2 separate regions of the Homo sapiens genome follow, and region 1 is linked to region 2. The links are contacts of gene promoters, found by promoter capture Hi-C in blood cells and fetal thymus (Javierre and others, 2016). All regions are on one chromosome and are shown on one strand. Each heading gives the region's core, a stretch centred on a gene start or on the middle of the fragment in contact. The rest is flanking DNA. Distances are from core to core; before and after follow the strand shown.

What was found. Contacts are between HindIII fragments. The CHiCAGO score rates a contact against its expected background, and 5 or more counts as called.
Region 1: a contact is called between a fragment that was not itself captured here and the fragment with the promoter of MYOC in region 2, in 2 of 17 cell types (megakaryocytes and erythroblasts). The highest score is 13.3, in megakaryocytes.

The regions. Positions count from the first base shown.
Region 1 is chr1:171,717,241-171,719,940 of GRCh38, forward strand. It overlaps VAMP4 (vesicle associated membrane protein 4), which reads right to left. Exons shown (of 8, transcript NM_003762.5): 4 at 1,931-1,981. Among named protein-coding and RNA genes, the nearest start is that of VAMP4, 23 kb to the right of the region's middle. The HindIII fragment of the contact is 3,201 bases long and covers 1-2,700 here.
Region 2 is chr1:171,651,381-171,654,080 of GRCh38, forward strand. MYOC (myocilin) reads right to left here and starts at 1,308. Exons shown (of 3, transcript NM_000261.2): 1 at 628-1,308. The coding sequence starts at 1,231. The HindIII fragment of the contact is 6,597 bases long and covers 1-2,700 here.

The sequences.
Region 1 (2,700 bases), core at 14-2,513, 66 kb after region 2:
AGTGGCAGCTTAGGCAAAAGAGAACATGTGAGTGGATAAAGAAGTCATTCTGGCTCAGTGCAGGAGAATGGTTCAGACATTACACATTGGCATCCACATATGCCACACAGGCTTGAACTACAGCTAATTTGAGTCCTGGTAGAATGCTTGTGATCTCCCTGGAACATGAGAGAATGAGTGGCTCATGAGGTCTTCTTCCATCCACCTCCCTGTTTCCCTTATGAGACTATCATAAGGCAGTTTCTTATCACCTCCCAGGTTCTGATGCGGTATAAACTTTCTGCAGGCTCTATGTGCAGACTATAAAAACCACAGCCTAGAAATAGCTCCTTTGCAATAGAGTATCCCACAATTTGTACTGCAGCCATTGACCTCCCCTTTTTTTTTTAAGAGAAGGGGGTTTCACTTTGTTGCTCAGGCTGGTCTCAAAACTTTTGGCTTCAAACAATCCTCCTTTGAAGGAGAATCCCAAAGTGCTGGGATTACAGGCGTGAAACACTGCACCCAGCTGTATCATTATTTTTGGTGTGCAGGACAATGACCCTGAGAGCTACTAACTTTGGCTACTCTTCCTTTTACTATATAAGTAATAAATTGCATCTAAAAGTGGCTTGTTGTATCTTTAGTCAAATAAGAGACTTGAAACAGTACAGATTCTCTCTTCTACTGGCCTCAAAGAAGCACCATGACATCTATAGCTGCAGGAAATAAATTCTGATAACTTCCTGAGTTGGTCATACCTGGTGATACCCTGATTGCCATCTTGTTAAACCTGAGCAAAAGGCTCACCTAAGAAGTGCCTGAACTCCTGACCCAAGGAAACTGTGAGATGATAAATGTGTGTTGTTTTAAGCTGCTAAGTTTATGGTAATTTGTTACATGGCAATAGAAAACTAATACACCCAGTCTAGTACCTGTAATCATTTATTGGTTCTTTGGTTCCATATCTCAAAATCCATTAGTTAGAATTAGGCTAAGTATGGAAATATTTCTTCACACCAACAGCTACCTGAGTAAAGCCCAAGTATCTCACCAATAACTAGATACTTCATTATAGAACCCTTCCCACAATGTGCCATCTATACCCAGGCTTAGGGTAGTGACTATTATCCCTCCTTAGGTCTTGAACCTGGGCCATGCAGTTCACATTCCACAGTTAGTCTTTACAGCTTGGTCAGTTTCCAGAGCCTTCCCTCAAGTGACTCACTGCTCTGTCTATTCCTTCTCCCCTCCAGTCAGGACTCATATCTTTCCGATATCAGACACATTGATTACAGCATATTATACTCATCTATCACCAAATAATATATACCTCAAAGGTTTTAAACCACAAATTAGCCATAAAACTTAGTTCAATATATGGGTTATGATAAATAAGAGATATGAAAAAATTCTGGAAGTAGATAAAAACATGCAGTACATCAACAAATTAAAGCTATTATATTACCTTTGTTATCATTCTGAAAATAGGAATCAAGCTACAGATTTAAAACCAAAATAGACCTTCAGACTATGCTAAATAAATGGATTTGACATAAGGTAATCAAGTCATAAAAAAACCAACAATCCTGCATTTCCTTAGCTATAATTCTGAGAAAATAAAATGAATTAGGTTTTTATAACCCAGCAGTTATATTTAGTCTTCATCAGGGGTCAACAACTTTTTCTGTAAAGGACCAGACACTCAGCAGATATTTTAGATTTTGTGGGCCATAAAATGTGACACAGCTTTGTCACAACTACTCAACTTTGCCATTGTAGCTTGAAAGTACCTATCGATAATATGAAAACAAATGGGCATGGCTATGTTCCAATAAAACTTTATTTACAAAAACAGGCTGCAGCCAGATTTGGCTCACAGGCTGCAGTTTGCCAATCTCTAGTCTACACAGAAATATGATTATCATTTAAACAAATGAACAAAACTTACTGCTTAATTTTATCATTTCTAGGTCCAAATCTTGGTCCAGATGGTCCCCTTCTGAAAACAAGTACATACCAAGTACATATTAGTAGTGACAGGATTAAAACAAAACAAAAAAAAGATAGAAAGTATACACAAATACAAACAATCAAGCTGAACTCTAAACATGGATCAGTTATTTATCATAAGGGACCACATTTTACTGATACTGGTGAAACTGAATAATAGGTAATCATGTCTTTACTTCATTGGCACTTATTACTAGCCACAATTAAGCTAATTCTTCTGCATGTTAAAACTTTCAGAGAAATTAGGGTTTATATTATCTTATATAACAAACTTACACAGAATTTGTTCTGATCATTAAACTCTGAAATATCCTAACTACTTAACTGCTAGTGAATATTAATATCTTTATGGTCAACTGTAGAACTAAAAGCGCAATTCATCTTGAATTTAGACTATAATGAAATGAGGAAACTACAAAGTGAACTGCCGATTGACAAAGATGGATATAGAGAAAAATTCATTGAAGACACTAACAATTTTAAGTATGTTTTTGATTATTCATCTTAAACTTATCAACATAGCAAAAGGGAAATGCAAGATATTAAGAAAATTTTAACATTACTCAGATTATTATCTCCTTATTGTAGTTGAGTGTATATCACACCTTAACCAATCCATTTTAATATTCTTGAAATGAAAACATTTGGTTATTTAAAGTAATCATGATTCTTCCGGAGATACAGAATAAATAAGACATAAACTACAAA
Region 2 (2,700 bases), core at 58-2,557:
AAGGGACCAGGATGAACAGAAGAGCCTCTCAGAAAAAGCCATCTCAAGAATTTGTCTGATGACTTAAAAGCAGAGGTTCTCAGATTGGACTGAGTAAGAAAACTTTCAGAACAACATATTAAGAAAACTGACAGAGAGGTGCCATCTCTTTATTTTGCCAGGGAAGAACATTTAAAAATAAACAAAAACTTACCACTTATTATCATTTCCCAAATCTATTGTAATTTCATAAATAAAGGTCATTTTAACATCAAAAGGTACAAATAACAATCTGAGCAAAGGTTCAAAAAAGGATAGTTTTTCAAAAGGGACAATTGACAACTTTCTACTGCTCATATGCAGACACATCTCACCCGGTCCTTTTATTTCTCCTTTTGCTATGGACTGTGAAAACTGACATGGAGGGGCACAAGAACTCTGAACCACTAATCTAAATGAAGCTCTCAGGAGCTAAATTACTAGTAATACTTGAAGGTGATCGCTGTGCTTTCCTTAATTCATCTGTCTTGTGCTAGCTGTGCAGTCTCTAGGAGAAAGGGCAGGCAGGGAGGCCTGGAGCGCCTGTAGCAGGTCACTACGAGCCATATCACCTGCTGAACTCAGAGTCCCCCCACTCTGCATTCTTACCTTCTCTGGAGCCTGGTGGCACAGCCCGAGCAGTGTCTCGGGTCTGGGGACACTGGCCCCTTCTCAGCCTTGCTACCTCCTGGCTGCTGCTTTCCAACCTCCTGGCCAGATTCTCATTTTCTTGCCTTAGTCGCTTCTTCTCTTCCTCCAGAACTGACTTGTCTCGGAGGAGGTTGCTGTAGGCAGTCTCCAACTCTCTGGTTTGGGTTTCCAGCTGGTCCCGCTCCCGCCTCAGGGTGCCCAGCTCCCTCTGCAGCCCCTCCTGGGTCTCCTGGGGCCTGGCAGCCTGGTCCAAGGTCAATTGGTGGAGGAGGCTCTCCAGGGAGCTGAGTCGAGCTTTGGTGGCCTCCAGGTCTAAGCGTTGGGTGCTGCTGTCTCTCTGTAAGTTATGGATGACTGACATGGCCTGGCTCTGCTCTGGGCAGCTGGATTCATTGGGACTGGCCACACTGAAGGTATACTGGCATCGGCCACTCTGGTCATTGGCCTTCCTGAGCTGAGCTGTCCTGGCCCCCACATCCCACACCAGGCAGGCCAGAAGCAGCAGCTGGACAGCTGGCATCTCAGGCCCAAAGCTGCAGCAACGTGCACAGAAGAACCTCATTGCAGAGGCTTGGTGAGGCTTCCTCTGGAAAGCTCTGCTGTGCTGAGAGGTGCCTGGATGGGTGGCCTTGCTGGCTCATGCCCGAGCTCCAGAGAGGTTTATATATACTGGGGAGCCAGCCCTTCATGGGGGAAGACAGAGGTGGCCACGTGAGGCTGGGTGGGGCTGTGCACAGGGGGGTTGCCTTCACGCTGCCAGCAAGATTCTTAGAAAATAACCTTCCAGAAGTCTGTTTGGAGTTTCTTTTTAAAAAGAACATCCCAATTTATGCACCCATACCCCAATAATAGTTCCTATATCTCCACCTGGTTTTACACACACACACACACACACACACACGTACACACACTTACACCAGGACTACTGGTGTGCTGATTTCAACAAGGATATATTTCTAGTTTATATTTCCATTCACTCTGCAAACTCATTGAGAACCTGCACTGTGCCAGGCACTATGCTAGGAACTGGAGATCCAAACAAGTCCTTTAAGACGTAGCAGGGACAGAGAAAAATAACAGCCAGCCAGAACACAAGGACAGCACCCTACCAGGCTCCAGGGAGAGCATTCCTATAGAAGCGGCAGATTTCCCCCCTCACCCCTAGCTTTAAAACAACTGTGTATCTTTGGGAGAACTTTCTAATTTCAGTCTTGCATCTCAGGCACCAATGTCAATGTTAGCCTCTAAATCAGTTCTTACTCTGTGTGTGTGCATGCCAAGAACCTCATTGGTGAAATCTGGGGAACTCTTCTCAGAAAGATGTTTTCAAATATATAAAATATAGATTACAAAGGAAACAAATGATAATGAAATATGATTATCAAAATATCAAAATTTTAAACATGTTTTATTAATATGTTAAAAACAAGATCCAGCAGGAGGTCTAATTTCAAAGTAGTTTTGAGTATAAATATTTCACTTACAACGTATCTGCAACAACTGTAATATAGTATAAAATGTCTGTGATTTCTATTGGTAATGACAAAATCACAGGTACTGTTATTACCACTTTGAGTTTATGGCTCTATTCGCAATGGAATAAAATGTTAAATTTAGTTAGAAGGTGGTAAAAACAAAAATGTAATTTTTTCCTCATTCAAATTCACAGGCTTTCTGGACTGTAGGTTAATAATCCCTGCTTTACATTAATAAACCCAAAGAGAAAAAACAAAAAGCAAATGGCAATAGCCAATAAATATACCAAAACTGTCAGAAGTAACTTTAAGCCACTTGAAATAATGATTGCCTTTGAGCAACTTTATGTTGTTAATACCAACAACAGTGTCAATACTTGTGAAGTAAATATTTCCAAACTGCCCTGGCAGACTCACCTCCAGAGTGGAGAAACACAGTTTGCTCTAAAGATTCTATTCTTATTTGATTGGTTCTGCAGTTAAGCCTGAACTTGAGACATTTACAAATGGGTGTTTGTTTACAGCTGACCAAAGGGTACTAGTCTCATTTTCTGAA